Linked DNA regions of Homo sapiens: region 2 is linked to region 1. The links are contacts of gene promoters, found by promoter capture Hi-C in human tissues and cell types (Jung and others, 2019). All regions are on one chromosome and are shown on one strand. The core of a region is centred on a gene start or on the middle of the fragment in contact, and the rest is flanking DNA. Distances in the headings are between cores, read along the strand shown.

The links. The method cuts DNA at HindIII sites, captures the fragments that hold promoters and counts their contacts. A contact is called where the count stands out against the background at its distance.
Region 2: a contact is called between a fragment that was not itself captured here and the fragment with the promoter of TUBGCP3 in region 1, in 1 of the 25 tissues and cell types used here (dorsolateral prefrontal cortex).

Annotation. Positions count from the first base shown.
Region 1 is chr13:112,586,719-112,589,508 of GRCh38, reverse strand. TUBGCP3 (tubulin gamma complex component 3) reads left to right here and starts at 1,356. Exons shown (of 22, transcript NM_006322.6): 1 at 1,356-1,604. The coding sequence starts at 1,529. LOC124903251 (a long non-coding RNA gene) reads right to left here and starts at 1,323. Exons shown (of 2, transcript XR_007063945.1): 1 at 93-1,323. RefSeq lists an enhancer at 541-1,360 and silencers at 1,426-1,645, 1,676-1,735, 1,766-1,885. The HindIII fragment of the contact is 4,898 bases long and covers 1-2,790 here.
Region 2 is chr13:111,184,921-111,187,620 of GRCh38, reverse strand. All of the region lies in intron 2 of ARHGEF7 (Rho guanine nucleotide exchange factor 7), which reads right to left. Among named protein-coding and RNA genes, the nearest start is that of ARHGEF7-AS1, 38 kb to the right of the region's middle. RefSeq lists an enhancer at 2,392-2,651. The HindIII fragment of the contact is 3,787 bases long and covers 1-2,700 here.

The sequences.
Region 1 (2,790 bases), core at 107-2,606:
TATTAACTTTGCTTGTTGAGATGATTGCTCCTGGAAGACAAGCACTTTCTATTTCTTTGGGCAAAGACGCTATGGCATAACCAGTGTAATACCTTCCAGCTGCATCTTTAAGTAAGAGCCATCTGTAAACCAAATAACATCAGCGTTAGTGAGGGGGGTTCTTGCATGTCTGTCCTAGGAGAGAGCTGGTCAGGTAAGATGATGCAGTCATGCAGCGTTTCAGCTGAAGGTGGGGGAGAGGGTGGCAGGATTTAGATGACATCTGGACATTGTAGTATGCGGCTGAGAGAATAACTTCATGAGAAGCCAGTTACTAACTGATCGTGTTGAGTGTGATGCAAGTTTAGAAGCGTTTCCACAGAATGCGTATCGAAGGCAGTGAGGGGTGATCGCATCCTTGGTGGTTTGGTTGCTCTTGCAGAGCTGTGATGGTTGTTGCATCATGCAAGGAGACAGTCCTTTAGCTGTAGGGTCTAGTTGTTGACTGTAATACCCTACAAGTCTGCTTTGTCTCCATGTTTTTGAGTCAGAACGACAACAAACGTTTTACTTGCCAACAATTCTGCAACCTGAGCTGGACCCAGGCCCGACGGGCTTTGCAGACAGTCACGTGTGTGGCTGGCCTCAGCTGGGATGTTGGGATAGCTGGGTTGTCCTCCCTCTTCCATTTCATAGGATCTCGGGATCTCTTTCCATCATTTTTCCTTAGGAAGTTGGCCTTTTAACATGGTAGCTCACGGCTCCCAAGCGTGCACCCATGTGTAAGCTTTAACGATTGCACTGAAGTTGGCTTGGTGTAATTGTCTGCTTATCGATCTTTTTCTCGGCAGGTTTCCTGTTCTCTCACTCCGTACGTGATTAATTTATTTTCCCAGGACGTCCCAGTTACCCGGGCCGGGGGGGACCGGCCCGCGCGGCAGTGCGAGGTCGGGCCTGAGCAGGGCGCCTGTTGGATAGCGTAGCAGGTGAACTGCCCACTGCACGTTAACAATCGTAACACCCTGCACCCTTTAAACAGGCTTCTTTTTTCTTTTCTTTTTTAAACAGGCTTCTTTCATCAGAAGTGTGAATCAAACCAATGCCGTTAACACACACACCCCCACACCCACACACCAAATTATGGCCTTTATGGTGCTACCGGCCACCAAGTGCCCTCCAAGCAAGCCCGTCACGCTCGCGACTCCGGGGCCGCTCTGTCCGCGCAGCTCGAGGGCCTCGGGCCACCTGTCGCCCGGAACTTTCTCGGCCGACCGGGCAGCAGCAGGGGGAATGCACCAGACAGGGCCGGGAACGCTTAGGCAGCCGCACGCGCGGCCGCGGCGCAGGGAAGAAGCGGGGCATTGTGGGAAGCGCCCGCGCTTTCGGCGGGTTCCGTTAAAATGGCGCCCTGGTGGCCGGCGGCGCCCGCGCCTTAGCCTGTCAGGAGCAGGGAGCTTGCGGGGCGCAGGAAGGGCGCGGGCCGCGGTCCCTGCGCGTGCGGCGGCAGTGGCGGCTCTGCCCGGACCACCGTGCACGGCTCCGGGCGAGGATGGCGACCCCGGACCAGAAGTCGCCGAACGTTCTGCTGCAGAACCTGTGCTGCAGGATCCTGGGCAGGAGCGAAGGTAGAGTGGCCGGGCGACGCGAAGCCCGCAGACCCGTCCCGGGGGCTGCTCCCTGCGCGTGCAGCCCTAATACGTTCCGGGGCTGGAGGAACGAGGATGCAGGGCCGGGCAGAGGGCTGGGGGACGGGCCGAGGACGTGGGGCCCGGACGAGGGAGCGGAGGGCTGGGGTTCGAGGGTCAGGGAGCCGGGGAGGACAGCGGAGGGCTGGGGGCCAGGACCGGGGCGGAGGGAGTGGAGAGGCCAAGGCCGGGGCGAGAACGCCGGGGCGGGAGGCGGGAGGGCGGAGCCGAGCCGGAGCGGGCTGAGTCACCGCTCACTCCGCTCGCGGGTCCGTCAGTGAGGACGGGAGGAATGCCAGCTCGCCAATTTATCCCCCTTCTCTGGTGTCACGCGCCGTGGGAGGGCGCCTCTGCGCGCCTTTGGGTTCATCCTGTGGGGTGGAGAGAGCGGCTGCGCCGCGGAGGTGGATGCGGGGTGCTGGAGTGTCACATCATCGTCCCTTTTCGTTAGGAAAGTTTAACAGGCTTGAGTATTATGGGAAGAGGGTGTTAACGACTGTAACTGCCGTGTTTTCCTACTGTTTAAAGGGTTGAAGGTTGGATTTGATATAAAACTATTCTGGGAAAGTTCACATGGCGAATATTGTTACTAATAAGCAAAACTAATCCTATACGGTAGGTAAAACCATTTTGTAGTCGAGGTACTTTGAAAGAAATGGTACAGGATGCCATTTCTTGCTCCTTGTTTTGGCCAGGTTGGTGGGGCAGAGAGTGAGGATGCACCATGAGGGAATTTTCTGAGTAATGGAAGCAACTGAGTTACATCTTAAGCACCAAAATGTGGAAAAGAAGTTACTCAATTTTTGAAGGAAGACTTCAAAGTTACATTTAAAGTACTGAGAATGCATTTTGACCTTTCATGCTTCATGACAATTACTGTACATAATTCATTGGATGTTCTATGATAATCTTGGGGCAATCATGAATAATTTTGTGTCGCTATTAAATGAGTGACTTCACACAGTTCTTGCTGCATCTTGTAAAGTTTGATTCTATCACTTTATTTATCTAAGAAATCTTTGAGGACAACCCCGTCCTCAAAGTTCCCCCCGGGAACTGTGCTAAGTGCTGGTGATGCAGATGCACAAGTCATTCCTCCCACAGATCTGACAGACACTCTACTGGA
Region 2 (2,700 bases), core at 69-2,568, 1.4 Mb after region 1:
ATATGTCTAATATATAACACAATGTACATTATGAAAATACTTCATATAATAAAGATCCTGTGTCAGAACCTTTCCACTACAAGCAAGTAAACCCAACTCAAATTGGCTTAAACAAAAAAAGGAAATTATTGGTTCGCACAACAAACAAGTCAGGAATGGCAAGAGCCACAAGCTCAGAACCGGAAGGCTTTCTCCGCTCTCTTTCCTACTCTCCTGAGTGTGCGCCACAGTTTCAGGAACGGTCTCCCTCATCAGGCAACAGGACCACTGGCAGCCCCAGGCCCACACCACCAGGTCAACACCTCAGATGCATCTCGCTGGACCCAGAGCCCACCACGTGAACCAATTTCACAGCCAGTGAAGCAGAACAAGGAGAGCTGTCCAAGGAGCCAACAATAACGGACACAGCATTCTGGCAAACCCACACATAAACATGTATTAATAATTTAGAGCACAAAAATTCAGACAGTCCCCCAGAGCTAAGGGACACCACTGTAGCACTAGGGCCACACAAATGCACGCAAAAGGACACACTGACCAGCTCTATTCCAGCCCAACTGCTTTCACACCACCCTCCCAATACCCACACCAACAAGCACAGCAACCTTAATCAACCCCGTCAGTACTGACACGAGAGCAAAAGAATGCCTCCTGCCTCCATGGTAGCGCTGGCTGATGCACCTCTACGTAGTAGACCCCAAAAAGACCAGACCGGGAAATGGGGAAAGAAGTAGTCGTCTTTTTGCTTCTCCTCACTTTCCACCATCTCAATACTGACGGAGAGGCCTCTGCAATGTGGGACTGAGCGCACACTTTCTGGGCTCACTGAAGCTTTAGTGGTCTGCGTTGCCACCAGTCAGCTCGCCTCCTCCAGGAACTTGAGAAAGTTATTCTTGACACAAGAAATTGTTATTTTTAGCACAGCTCTGGAGTGTGGTTTGCAAAGTTTAAAAATATAATTTTGTCCTATCACTGTCAAATGGAACTTGTGATTTCAGAACAAGAGTAAAAAATGAATCTTAAATAAGTGGTGCTATTTAAGTTTAATGCAAATGGTCCATATTGTTGGGGACATGTGAAAAACAGAAATCCAGCAGTACGTTTTCACTTCCTGGCTTCTGCAGATTTTGTACTTAATCCCACCCACTCCTACACCCCAGGGGTAAAATTAAAGTCTGATGACGGATGCTATCAATTACGGCACTTTCACCCAACATGCACCCAAATGATTTATTTCACTTTAAAATGAAAATCAAATCTTATTCAATTTTGTGGATTCCACTGTATCAACACCCAAACACTAGGACAGAGAATACATCTTCAAAAAAGAAGTAACCAAGTATTTTAGGTAGTTTCCAGGAAGGGGTGAGAGGAGCAGAGCAGGGAGGCAGGAGCACAGCAACGGGAAGGCAGGCAGGGCTCTTCCCAACAAGATGCTCTCTGCCTTCTGCAGACCGGGCGCAACCTCCACACGAGGCAGGGAAGCGCAGCCCCAACAGGCAGGGGAAAGGAAGGACACCTCCCTGCTTAGGACCACGGCATGCTGTGCTGGCCCACACAGCCCGTACCTCAGTGTAGACTGCATGCCAGTTTATCTTACAGGCAGAAAACGAAAACACACACACACACACACACACACACACACACACACACACACACGAGCTCCCAAAAGACAGTGTGACAAAGCTTACAAAGGCAGAACCAAGATCGGAGCCCACCAGCCTGGCTTTGCCCACACCACCACACTGCCAGCCAGGAAAGGACACCAGAGACAGTGGTGTCCCACAGCGGTCATGCAGGCAGATCAGGCAGCACCCAGGGGAGGAGGGGTGGTCTCAGACACAACTCACCACGTACACACACACAGCAGCCCATACAGCCTACACAGGCCCCCAAACTTCTGTCTTCGACTGCTAGGAGCACATGCCTGCAAAGAACAGCCTGGCTGTCGCCAGAAAGTGAGCACATACCACAAAGAAGGATCTGGGCAGATGCAACACACTGGCTTGGGCTAACAGTAAGTGAAGCAGTAACATTTACAGCTATAAAGGCAATGCGCCCATTCCATTAACTTCAAAATGCAAGCAGTTACAAGACTCCAGTTTTGAGAAGTTTCTCAAGATGGCCCACTGCAAACACCTATCTAACTCCCATCCCTCCCAAGGTGCCACCGAAATGAGAGAAAGAAAAAGCTTCAAAAAATTAACAGAGAAAGAACCCGCTGTAGTGCTAAAAAGGGAAAGGCTATGAGCAGTCTAAACAGGGTTTGAGGAGATCCCTGGGGACAGGACGCAGATGGACTCTGAATGACCTAACAGTTCAGAACAGCACTTGTAAGGGAGCCCCAGGAGCACCAAAGACGGTTTTCTAACACAGGAAGGGACACGTGACCCACCTCAGGACTTCAGCACGACAGCCCCTTCTTCCTGATGGGAAGCTCAGCACCCAGACCCCTCTCTAATTAAAAAGAAGCTGCTGCCTGCACTGGATTCTAACCGGAGGTGAAGTGACCCTCTCTAATTAAAGAGAAGCCTGCGGCCTGCACTGGATTCTAACCGGAACCTGATGCACCACTAGGCCCACACAACAGTCTCTGAGGAAAAAAAAAAATGACAATTCTACCCAGAAGCGAAATCCCCTGGGAGCTCCACCACCAGCCTGGACTATCCCCCATCTGAAGTGTGACACAGGAAACAGGTG